Regions from separate parts of the Homo sapiens genome. Here region 1 is linked to region 2. The links are contacts of gene promoters, found by promoter capture Hi-C in blood cells and fetal thymus (Javierre and others, 2016). All regions are on one chromosome and are shown on one strand. The core of a region is centred on a gene start or on the middle of the fragment in contact, and the rest is flanking DNA. Distances in the headings are between cores, read along the strand shown.

Region 1 (6,371 bases), core at 942-3,441, 290 kb before region 2:
GGTAGCAGCCCTGGGTATGGCTTAAAGTGTCATTTTATGCCCCATTGACCCTTCCTCCCAATAACACCAGGGGTCCAATTTCAAAGAAGGAAAAGGTTAGTGTGAACACAGGGAAGCAACGTGACACCAGAGCTGGGGATTAGCCTCTGTTGGGGTTTAGGTTTCTGCAGAATGAAAGCTTTCTCACTCATAGGCCCCCCACATTGCAGGACTCTGCTAGGGCCCCATTTCCAGGGCTTTTTTCTTGGGGGCTTTGAGGAGCCCTGAGAAGGGGGCTTCAAGGATGAGGAAACTGAGGCCCAGAGAAGGGGAAGAGTCGGCTCCAGGTCACACAGCTGGTCTGAGGTGTCCAGAGCCTTCCTAGGCCTTGGCAACACAGCAGCTGTGTGGGCATGCTGGAGCTGGGAGGGAGGGGCTGCACCCAGGCCCTGCAAGGTGCCCCTTGCCACCTGCACCCCGGGCTCACCTTGTCAAAGTCCTGATAGTGCTCCTGGACTGTTTTCTGCAGGAACCACAGGAACCTCTGGTTGAAGGCCTTGAACCTCTGCAGGGCAGGGTTAGGCAGGTAGCGAAGGATGGGGAAGAAGTCCAGGGGGTTCCCGGAGGAGGCAGTCTCCACGAACTCATGAGTGTTCTTCACGAGGCTGAGCATCTCATCGCTACTCTCAGGGAAGTGCTGTCCGAAGCACATGGCACCAATGACGTTGGCCACTGACACCACCACCTGATTGTAAGGGTCGAAGTGCCCAGGCCCTGCCATCAGCTCCTGCAACCTGCTGATCAGGGCCTTAGCCTCCTTGCTCACATGCTCCTCCAGGTAGCAGGAGGATGAGGAAGCTGGGTCAGAGGCGATGGAGAAGGTGTTGAGGGCATTCTGGGCCAGGCGCCGGCGGGCAGCCCACACCGGTCCAGAGTCTGTGCTGAAGGTCAAGCTCTGGCCATCAGTGATGAGGGTGGAGGTGTAGAGGTCAGGCCGGCCCTTGAAATCGTCGCCCTGCCGCACCAGGGCCTGCCGGATGGTGTCCAGGCGGCTCAGCACCAGCACGGGCGTGGAGCCAATGCGGATCTGCAGGACGTCCCCGTAGCGCTGGCTCATCCTTGACAGTGCCAGGTGCGGGTTCTTCCCCAGGGTCAGCACATGCCCGAGCAAGGGCCAGCCCCATGGCTCTGGTGGACTTTTCAGGCCTTTGGGGACCCGAGGCCTCAAACCCTTGAGCACCCAGAATACCAGGCAGAAGATGGCAGAGGCCAGGAGAAGCTCTGTGGCCGAGAAGGGAACAGACTGGGACAATGCCATCTGTACCAACTGCAGGGAAAAAAGGAGGGACCAGGCTGAGGGTTGAGATGGAGACATTCATTCATTCATTTCCTCAGTCATTTGATAAACACTGATGCGTGTTCTGTGCTTGGCTCCCAGCTGGATACCAGAAAGACTAAGCTCCATCTACCATGCGTCCTGGGCCCACAGAGCTCACCCTTTGAGCATCACAGAATCTGAGAGCTGGAAAGGAGCCTCAAGATTCCCAACATGAACGCTGGCTCTCTCCTCCACACATCATCTCAGTTTCCACTTCTGGGGCTGGAGTAGAGGCAAGTGACCACTCCAAAATGGGGAAGCCAAGGACAGCACCCTTGTCAGCCCCTGGCACAGCATGCATGCTGGGTATTGTACCAAAGAGTCCCTGCCAGTGCTGGCTTTCTGCTGATACCTTCCATATACCCAAGGGACCAGGAGTTCCCCCTACCCAGTGACACTGAGGTGGCCAAGGTCCCAGGGCTGGTTCAAATAGCCTGTGATGCCCCCTCCCCAGGGCATTCTTTATCAATACCAGGAGGGGCACCTCCTCCAGGGATGAGTCCCCATCCTCTCACAGTCTTGGAGGTTGGGGTTGGGCTTCAGCCAGGGCCAGGGCTGCCCTTGTGCTAAGGGGGAAGCCCTCCCCATCGCTCTCCTTAAAAATGGCTTAGTCCAAACTGCTCATTTAAAATCGGGAAACAGAAGTCAAGAGCTGGGTAGCAAAGCCCGGAACTCAGGACCCCTACACCTAGCCCAGGCTCCCCGTCTTTCTGTCCCCACTAGCTTCCAGGTTCTATAGTTGGGGATCCCAGAGATTGTAAATTGGTCCCAAGAAAGGTACCTGTAGAGGCAGGTGCTTGAGATTGGCAGGGTTGTAATGGCTGGTGTGGAGCTTCTGGCTCTAGGTGAGTGGCCTTTTTATAAACACCGCCCCCTATCAGATTGGCCTGGTTGTCCTGATCACCTGATATGAAAGCTGGATCACTGAACAAAGTTGGAAGGATCAACTCTTGGCCTTGGGCCATTATCCCTCAGCTCCACCTACTACCTAAGACCCAGGGTGACTCTTTGGGGATAGGCCAGAAGGGGTGCTGGGTCCCTGGGGATGAAGGTACAGCTGTCTTTAGGGTTCAGGGTAGGGAGCCTATTTCTCTGAAGAGTAGGGTAGGGTCTGGGAGTGGGGGTTAGGCCTTTGGACTGATCTGGGCTTCTTTCCCACTGCACACATGAGGAAGAGCTCTGCCAGGGCACTCAGTCTAGGCCAACCAGGCTCACGGCCCCTCTCCAGAGGGATGTTCTTCTGTAGTACCCTCCAACAACCTGCAAAACCAAACAGTAAATGGGCGTGTTCCAGCCACTCCTGATTTTCAGCCCAAGTCCCCAAGTGGAAAAGAAGAGATGATAAAGATTTTGCATCCTAAAGAGAGGCCCCCCTTATGCAAAAAGACTAAGAGACATAACCAAATGCAATATGGATTTGCATTTGATTGCCATATCGATTGGATATGGCATTTAAACAAAATTTTAAAAAAATCTATAAAAGATGTTTTGGGGACAATTGGGGACATGTAAGCACGGACTGGAGATTAGATGATATTCTGGAATAAATGTAAATTTTTTTAGGTGTGAACAGAGTGTCATGGTATGTGGGAGTGTATCCTTATTCTTAGGAGATTAATGCTGTAGCATGGAAGTGTCATGATCCCCACAACCTCCTTTTGAATGGTTCTGTTAAAAAATGTACACCTCTAGGCCAGGCGCGATGGCTCGCACCTGTAATCCCAGCACTTTGAGAGGCCGAGATGGGCGGATCACCTGAGATCAGGTGTTCAAGACCAGCCTGGCCAACCTGGTGAAACTCCGTCTCTACTAAAAATACAAAAATTAGCCAGGCATGGTGGCATGTGCCTGTGATCCCAGCTACTCGGGAGGCTGAGGCAGGAGAATGGCTTGAACTTGGGAGGTGGAGGCTGCAGTGAGCCAAGATCGTGCCACTCCACTCCAGCCTGGGCGACAGAGTGAGACTCCGTCTCAAAAAAAAAAAAAATGTACACCTTTAAAGAGTGTAATTGGATTGTTTGTAACTCAAAGGTTTATCCTTGCTTGAGGGGATGGATACTCCATTCTCCATGAATGCTTATTTCATATTGCATGCCTGTATCAAAACATTTCATGTACCCCATACATATATACACCTACTATGTACCCATAAAATTAAAACAATGTATACCTATCTATCAATAAATCGAGAGAAAGTAGATATGAGAAATGTCAGATATTCATGGACTTACGTGAGGATATATGGTGTTTGTTGTACTAAAGGAGTCTTTAATATGGACCCAGATCTCAGTCAGATCTAAGAGGAGGAGGAGGACAAGCCTTAAATTGGATGTGAAAAGGAAGTTTGCTATCTTTTTTTTTTTTTTTTAGATACAGAGTCTTGCTCTGTCACCCAGGTTGGGGTTCATGTGCCACAATCATGGCTCACTGCAGCCTCGACCTCCTGAGCTCAAACAATCCTCTTGCCTCAGCCTCCTGAGTAGCTGGGACCACAATCACAGGTGTGTGCACCATGCCTGGCTAATTTTTTTATTTTTAAACATTTTTTTGTAGAGAGGAGGTCTTGCCATGTTGCCCAGGTTGGTCTTGAACTTCTGGGCCCAAGCAATCCTTCTGCCTTGGCCTCCCAAACTGCTGGGATTACAGGTGTGAGCCACTGTGCCCGGCATGGATGTGAGAGGGAAGTTTTGATTTAGACTGGAGTGGGCTTTTATTCCTGAAAATGAGAAAACTGTGGGATCAACCTGTGAAGATGCCAAGGCAGATGGATGGGGAATCCAATAGAGAAACAGAGCATGTTTGAAGGCCATGAATGGGAGAAGAGGAAAGTTGTTTCCTGTCTATATCTCCATTGGGTTCAGATGACTCAATGAAAAAGGTCAAGGTTTGAGGTTAGGCTCGGTTTTATAGAAAATGGACTCTTTCTTTCTCTCTGTCTGTCTGTCTCTCTAATTAACTAAAGTTCATGGTTTACTTAGATTTCCTTGCGTTTTACCTAATGTCCTTTTCCTGTTCCAGGACCCATTGGATATCACATGACATTTAGTCATCACGTCTCTTTGGATTCCTCTTGGCTGTGACAGTTTCTCAGGATATCCTTGTTTTTGATGACCTTGACAATTTTCAGGAGTACTGGTTGGACATTTTGTAGGATGCCCACTATTGGAATGTGCCTGATGTTTTTCTTCTCATGGTAAGCCTGGGGTTATGGTTTGTTGGTGGGAAGACCTTGGAGGTTAGGTGCCATTCTCGTCACATCATATCAGGGTTACATCCTATCAATGTGACTTACAGATGTGGATGTTGACCTTGATCACCTGGCTAAGGTAGTGCGTGTCAGGTCTCTTCACTGTAAAGTTACTCCTTTCCCACCTTTCCATACTGTACCTTTTGGAAGGAAGTCACTATGCACAGCCCACACCGAAGGAGTGGGGGATTACGCTCCTTCTCCTTGAGGGGGGATTATCTCCATAAACTATTTGAAATTCTCCTGTATGACAGACTATTTATCTTTTTATTTTTAATGTTTTCTTAAAACTTAAAAAAATTAAATTACAGGATACAATATAGAAAAGTGCATATGTCAGCTGGGACCGGTGACTCACACCTGTAATTCTAGCACTTTGGGAGGCCGAGGTGGGAGGATCACTTGAGTGAGGCCAGGAGTTCAAGACCAGCCTGGCCAACATAGTGAAACCTCATCTCTACTAAAAATACAAAAAAAAATTAGCTGGGCGTGATGGTGCACACCTGTAATTCCAGCTACTCGGGAAGCTGGGGCATGACAATTGCTTGAATCCGAGAGGCGGAGGTTGCGGTGAGCCAAGATCGCACCACTGCACTCCAGCCTGGGTGACAGAGCAAGATTCTGTCTCAAAAATAAATAAATAAATGGAAAAGTGCATATGTCATGTATAGCTCGATCATGTGTAGCTTGATGAATTTTTGCAAACTTAACAAACACACATATAACCAGCTCTAATCAAGAGACATCATAAGCATCCAAGAAGTCCCGTTGTGTTCCTTTCTCAAGGGTACCCATGACCCCAACATCTATTGCATGGATTTGTTTTGCTTGTTGTATTTTACATAAATGAGATCATGTCATATGTACACTTTTTGGAGGGGAGCCAAGGAATTTTAAAAAGCTAATAGATTTTTTTAGAGCAGTCTTTGGTTCACAGAAAAATTGAGTGGAAAGTATGATGAGGGAGGTAAAAGTGGCCATTTACCACCCCCACTCTGCAGTTTCCCCTATTATTAACATCTTGCAGTGGTGTAATATATTTGTTACAATTCGTGGATGAATATTGATACATTCTGGTTGTTGTTGTTGTTGTTTTGAGACAGAGTCTCAGGCCTGGTGTGGAGGCTCACATCTGTAATCTCAGCACTTTGGGAGGCTGATGTGGGCGGATCACTTGAGGTCAGGAGTTCTGGACCAGCCTGGCCAACATGATAAAACCCCATCTCTACTAAAAATACAAAAAAATTAGCCGACCATGGTGGCGCATGCCTGTAGTCCCAGCTACTCAGGAGGCTGAGGCAGGAGAATCCTTTGAACCCCAGAGGTGGAGGTTGCAGTGAGCCAAGATCGCGCCACTGCACTCCAGCCTGCGCCATAGAGCAAGACTCGTCTCAAAAAAAATAATAAAATAAAATAAAGAGAGACAAAGTTTTGTTCTGTTGCCCAGGCTGAAGTGCGGTGGTACAATCTCAGCTCACTGCAACCTCTTCCTCCCAGATTCAAGCGATTCTGGTGCCTCAGCCTCCTGAGTAGCTAGGATTACAGGCACACACCACCATGCTCGGCTAATTTTTGTATTTTTAGTATAGACGGGGTTTCACTGTGTTGGCCAGGTTGGTCTCAAACTCCTGACCTCAGGTGATCTGCCCACCTCGGCCTCCCAAAGTGTTGAGATTACAGGTGTGAGCCACCACGCCCAGCCTCTGATACATTATTATTAACCGACGACCATAGTTTAAATTAAGATGCACTTTGTGTTGTACAGTT
Region 2 (6,448 bases), core at 1,185-3,684:
GAAATACTTTGGGTAATGTCTGTAATTGGCTCTTAAACGGATCGGGTGGAAAAACAAAAGAACAATATGCATAGTGAGAGAGTGAGAGAGAAAGAATGATGAGGTAAATGTAAACTATTAACAACTGGGGACTTTGGGTTAAGGGTATGAGGGCATTATTTTGTAATATTTTTGCAACTGTACTGTAAACTTGAAATTATTTCAAAGTAAAAAGTCTCAAGAATATTTGAGCACAGGGGAAATATTCAAGCTAGGTAAAATATGTAGATTACTAAACAAATGTACAGTGTAATCTAAATTTTGTTGAATATACATATTTAAGATTCAGTAAAATTATACTTTTAGAAGCATAAAACAAAGTTAACAATTGTCATCTATTGGTGATAGAATAGCCATGCCCCTCTTAAAGCCAAAAGGCTAGCAGATATCAAGACCTACTCTAAAGTTAGAGAAATCAAGACGTGTGACATTGGCACAATGACAGAAAAATACACCCATGGCACAGAATAAGAGTCAAAAATTGACCCAGACATACATAGTCACCGGATTTATGACAAAGCTGCCACTGAAATTCAGTGGGAACAAAATTTTTAAATAGTGCTGGATCAATTGTACACCCATATGGAAGAGATGAATCTTGATGTCTAACTCCTATCATATACAAAGATTAATGTGAAATTAATCATAGACCTAAATGTGAAAGATAAAATAACACAGAAGAAAACCTAGGATAGTATCTTCATAACGAGGGCAGGCAAAGATTTCTTACATAGGACACAAAAGGCACTAACCATCACAACAAAATTTCAGGCCGGGCGTGGTGGCTACCGCTTGTAATCCCAGCACTTTGGGATCACCTGAGGTCAGGAGTTCGAGCAGCCTGGCCAACGTGGTGAAACCCCGTCTCTACTAAAAATACAAAAATTAGCCGGGCGTGGTGGCAGGTACCTGTAGCCCCAGCTCCTCAAGAGGCTGAGGCATGAGAATCTCTTGAACCCGGGAGGCGGAGGGTGCAGTGAGCCGAGATCGGCCACTACTGCACTCCAATCTGGGCGACAGAGCAAGACTCCGTCTCAAAAAAAAAAAAAAGTTTTAAAATGAAATTAAATTATCTAATACCATTAAGAGTAAAAAAAAAATCATGAACTGGGAAAGTATTCACAATATATAATTTTGATAAATTATGGAGCTCAGGTGCAAGTAACTTAGTAGGCAGGAGAGGAAGGAGTCTAAAGAAGTCTAGTTAGGAAGGATTACTGAAAGAGGGGGTATATCTAAAAATGGGTAGGATGGGAAAGGGAGACTTTGGGAACAGCCATGGGTTCCTAATGCGCCCACAACATACATGGGAGTTATCCTGAAGATAAACTCCCTGAAGACAGTGAAAGCCATTTCAAAACTCCCCATATAACTTATGAGAACAGAGGGGTGATCTGCCTTTAATGTTAGGCCTTCTGAGATCCTGCGATCTGTTCGCTCTCCTCAGTAACATTACCCTGCTCAATTGCTGCCTTAATCCCAGGTCGCACATTGGAATGTGGGAATTCAGCGTTTACATTTACCCACACAGGATCAGCCTTCAGCTGCTACGATCAACTTCAGTATTTTCATATAATCACTTTTTTCTTTCCTTAGTTCTTGAATTATTAATTCCTTGAGAAGAGTCCAATCAGAGGTAGTCTTTCTTCAGTATTTTCGGTAATCCTAATTTCTGTGCAAAAAAATTTCTGTTCCATTTTAACCGTGCAGAACTTTCTGTTATCTAAAACACAGTTTCTCTATGAGAGTTCAGTGAAAATTCCCCTTCCCAAACTGATTCTATGAATGACTGTTAGATAAGCTTCACCACTGCATGTAGAGGGTGTACCAGGAACCCAAGTTAGTAGCTCTCCTCAAAGACCCAACTTTTGGAGGGGGTCATCGTCTGGTTCCTGGTATGCCTCCACAGGTAGGTCCGCCTCAGGAAGTCAGCGGCGAGGAGCACAGAAGAGGCTGCCTTCACCAACGGACAGCAGTTTTCATCGTGAGGGCCGTCGGCAACCGCTTGGATGTGTCTAAAGGGGCCGTTTGGGAACCGGCCCTTCTGGAGGGAAGGGTCGGAGTGGGAGGGGATCCGGGATCCGCCTTACGGCCGAGTGTCCAGCAGCGCGTTCCAACCTGGCAGAACCGACGTACTTCATATGCTCCTCAGGGGAGCGCGGGAATCACCAGGCTGAAGAATGACTGGAAATGGGACCCTCTCCAACCAAAGCACCCAGACATTCCGGCGCCGGACATTTCAAAGAGCGCGGAAGCCACGCCTTCCCCCAGAACCGGAAGCTTTGCAACTAGCGCCTCTTGTAGACTGGCTGTTTATAAGGGGGCGGGGGGCCACAGCGGGAACTGCAACTCCCAGAATGCAGCGCGGAATTTCCGGTTTCCGGCGAGAGGGCCAGAGTGAGTGTTTACACCGGCGGCAGTGCGGCCGGGTTCCTTCCGCGGGACGGGTGAGGGCGCTGGGGCCCTGGGCAGCGCGGGCTCGATGTGTGTCAGCCAAGTAGCTGGTCCCACTGGAGCGGTGAGGTCGCCACCGGATAGTGTTCCTGCCCCATTACTAGCGATCTGTGACCTTGGGCCAGTGATTTTACTGAGTCTTGCTTCCCTCATCTTTAAAATGTGGCTAATGCCTGCCTTAGGGAACCGTTGTGAGGATTAAGTGAGACATGGTATATAAAACGACCTCCTTCTGGCATAAACTTGAGGTGGAAGATACCTTGAGGATGCTTGAAGGTCTGCTAGGCAGCTTCACAGCCTTTTCTTTCCTCTTCTCTATCAGAGGTCTCTTTGGAAGCAATAATGATGACTATAACAAGAACTTATCTTGCTTTGCAAGATTCTTCCGCCGTCAGAGTTTCTGATTTATTTTCTGGGGTTCCATGTATGCCAGGTATGGGGACAAGGATGAAGAAAACTTTAGTCTTTTGTTTTCAAGGGCATTCAAGAATTGGGGTGGAGGAGGGGGCAAGCAGATATTTGTAGCCCTTTTGTTCTGAGGGGATGTGGGAACAACAGAGGAAAGAGAGGGGACTGAGGTTATTGAATCTGTGTTGGTTTCGGTAGGAGTTTGCTAAAAGGCCAAAAAGGGAAGAGAAATTACATGCAGAGTTAGATGAGCAGAGGTGTAAAATAGGGGAGAGCTTTGTTATGAGTGTGTACTTACATGTTGTGGAGGTCCTTTGCAGGGGTAGGGCTCTGTTGGGGAATGAGGCTGGCAGGGAGTTTTGTAAGCCAGGCGATGAAGTTTAGACTTAATTTATATAGATGGTTTAGAGGTATTGGAAGAGGTCTTTTTCTGGGGGGCCGGGGTGGGGCAGGGAGGGACGGAGTCTCTGTCGCCCAAGCTGGAGTGCAGTGGCGCTATCTCGGCTCACTGCAACCTCCACCTCCCGGGTTCAAGCAATTCTCCTGCCTCAGCCTCTCAAGTAGCTGGGATTACAAGCGCCTGCCACCACGCCCTGCAAATTTTTTCTATTATAGTAGAGATGTAGTTTCACCATGTTGGCCAGGCTGGTTTCAAACACCTGATCTTAAGTGATCCGTCCTCCGCGGCCTCCCAAAGTGACAGGATTACAGGTGTGAGCCACCGCGTCTGGCTTTTTTTTTTTTTTTTTTTTTTTTTTTTGCGACAGAGTCTCTCTCTGTCACCCAGGCTGGAGTGCAGTGACGTGATCTTGGCTCACTGCAACCTCAGCCTTCCGAGTAGGTGGCACTACAGGTGCGCACTACCACGCCCAGCTAATTTTTGTATTTTTAGTAGTGACGGGTTTCACCATGTTGGCCAGGCTGGTCTTGAACTCTTGAGCTTAGGCAATCCGCCCGCCTAGGCCTCTCAAAGTGCTAGGGTTACAGGCATGAGCCACCGCGCCCAGCCCGACATTGGAAGAGTTCTAAGCAGAGAAGTGACTTGGTCAGATCTGTGTTTTAGAATGATGGGTTGTGGCCAGGCGCAGTCGCTCATGCCTGTAATCCCAGCACTTTGGGAGGCCGAGGCAGGTGGATCACGAGGTCAGGAGATCGAGACCATCCTGGCTAACACAGTGAAACCCCGTCTCTACTAAAAGTACAAAAAAAAAAAAAAATTAGCCTGGCGTCGTGGCGGGTGCCTGTAGTCCCTGCTACCTGGGAGGCTGAGGCAGGAAGGCAGGAGAATGGCGTGAACCTGGGAGGTGGAGCTTGCAGTGAGCCGAGATCGCGCCGCTGCACTCCAGCCTGGGCAACAGAGCGAGACTCCGTCTCAAAAAAAAAAAAAAAAATGATGGGTGTTGTTAGGTGGCAGCATAGATATTTGATAGGGAGAGGCAAGAGGCAGGGAACTTGTTATAAAGCTGTTCTACTGGTTCAAGCAACAGTTGAAGAAAATTGGAAAAAGGGGCATACAGAAGGGAGAGGGTTAGATGATCTCTCTCACAACATTCCTATTAGATTGGATGGCGTTTTTATGTCCACGTTAGGGATGAAGAAACTGAGGCCTAGAGAGCTGTCCATCACAGTATGAGTAGAGAGAGAACCCCAGATTCTAGTTCTGGCCTCCTGATGGTACGCCCTATGCCTCTTCAACAGTGTCACATTGAATTGTCTTTCATTCAACCCTTTGGTGGGTGGGGGTGGAGTAGAGTGGTGGTCTGTCTTTTAACCACTGAGGTTTTGTTCTTTTACAGGGAGAAAGAGAGAGCGCGAAAGAGAGAGGATGTCTCTCTCAGACTGGCACCTGGCGGTGAAGCTGGCTGACCAGCCACTTACTCCAAAGTCTATTCTTCGGTTGCCAGAGACAGAACTGGGAGAATACTCGCTAGGGGGCTATAGTATTTCATTTCTGAAGCAGCTTATTGCTGGCAAACTCCAGGAGTCTGTTCCAGACCCTGAGCTGATTGGTGAGTCTCTCTGGACTGGGGTTGGGCTGCTGCTCTGATCTCTTTTGGGGGAGGATACTTCTGGAATTACAAGAGTAAAGTAAGGGCTTGGGATTTGTTGCCTCATAATGTTAACACTCCAGGGAAGTGAATGTTGGGTAAATAGAAACACAAATCATATAATGAAACTATTGGTTGCCATTTCAGCCATGTATTATACTGAACTACCTTATCACCAGGTTCTTTATGACATTGTCTTGTTTTTTGTTTTTGTTTTTGTTTTGCTGTGTAGCCCAGGCTGGAGTGCAGTGGTGCGATCTCGGCTCACTGCAACCTCTGTCTCCTGGGTCCCAGTTCAAGCAATTCTGCCTCAGCCTCCCGAGTAGCTGGGATTACAGGCACACACCACCATGCCCAGCTAATTTTTGTATTTTTAGTAGAGACATGGGATTTCACCATGTTGGCCAGGCTGGTCTTGAACTCCTAACCTTGTGATTCTGCCCGCCTCAGCCTCCCAAAATGCTGGGATTACAGGCATGAGCCACCGCTCCTGGCCAACATTGTGAATTCTTTTTCTGAAAGAACAGAAGTTTGGGATGAGTTAGGAAAGGAGAAGTTGGTCAGGGGAGGCTCCTCAGTATATTTGAGGTAGGTCTTCAGGGATGATTAGAAGGATTTTTGCTTGGTTGACTGAGTAAAGGAAAGGCAGTAAAAAAGAAAAAGTGGCGTGGGCAGTCCAGGTGGAGGAGGGAGGAATTTAAATATAATTAAATTACACTGAAAAGGTAATTTTTAATAGCTAAAGGATCCAACTGGCAAGAAAGATGTTTTCAGTCATACCTGGATTGGGTTCATCCTATTTTGTTGTTTTTCCATTGATTTAAATTGGGCAGCCTCCACAATGTTAAACTCCAGAGTTTTTCTGTGGATAGATTCTGTGTGAATCCTTTTTTTTTTTTTTTTTTTTTGAGACGGAGTCTTGCTCTGTTGCCCAGGCTGGAGTGCAGTGGCGAGATCTCAGCTCATTGTAACCTCTGTCTCCCAGGTTCAGGCAATTTTCCTGCCTCAGCCTCCTGAATAACTGGGATTACAGGCCCGCACAACCACAACTGGCTAATTTTTGTGTGTATGTGTGTATATATATATATATTTCTTTTTTTTTGAGACAGAGTCTTGCTCTGTTGCCCAGGCTGGAGTGCAGTGGTGTGATCTTGGCTCACTGCAACCTCCGCCTCCTGGGTTCAAGCAATTCTCCTGCTTCAGCCTCCTGAGTAGCAGGGATTACAGGCGTCTGCCACCATGCCTGGCTAATTTTTGTATTTTTGGTAGAGACGAGGTTTACCATCTTGGCCAGGCTGGCCTTGAACTCCTGACCTCAGGTGATCCACCCACCTCGGCCTCCCAAAGTGTTGGGATTACAGGTGTGAGCCACCGTGCCCGGCCCTAATTTTCGCCATGGCCCAGGTTTCGCCATGTCGGCCAGGCTCCAAAAGTGCTGGGTTTATAGGTGTGAGCCACCACATCTGGCCAGATTCGATGTAAGTCCATTTTATGAGTTT

The links. The method cuts DNA at HindIII sites, captures the fragments that hold promoters and counts their contacts. A CHiCAGO score of 5 or more calls a contact.
Region 1: a contact is called between the fragment with the promoter of CYP1A2 here and the fragment with the promoter of UBL7 in region 2, in 2 of 17 cell types (M2 macrophages and neutrophils). The highest score is 7.1, in M2 macrophages.

Annotation. Positions count from the first base shown.
Region 1 is chr15:74,744,665-74,751,035 of GRCh38, reverse strand. CYP1A2 (cytochrome P450 family 1 subfamily A member 2) reads right to left here and starts at 2,191. Exons shown (of 7, transcript NM_000761.5): 1 at 2,139-2,191; 2 at 467-1,306. The coding sequence starts at 1,297. RefSeq lists promoters at 1,298-2,435, 4,167-4,715, 2,101-5,396, an enhancer at 4,289-4,547 and a cis regulatory region at 3,522-6,371. The HindIII fragment of the contact is 9,803 bases long and covers 181-6,371 here.
Region 2 is chr15:74,457,146-74,463,593 of GRCh38, reverse strand. UBL7 (ubiquitin like 7) reads left to right here and starts at 2,434. Exons shown (of 11, transcript NM_032907.5): 1 at 2,434-2,557; 2 at 4,698-4,910. The coding sequence starts at 4,727. It overlaps UBL7-DT (UBL7 divergent transcript), which reads right to left and starts at 2,329. Exons shown (of 4, transcript NR_120377.1): 1 at 1,567-2,329. RefSeq lists enhancers at 915-1,415, 2,363-2,512, 2,803-2,892, 2,347-3,193, 3,349-3,868 and 1 more. The HindIII fragment of the contact is 11,059 bases long and covers 2,322-6,448 here.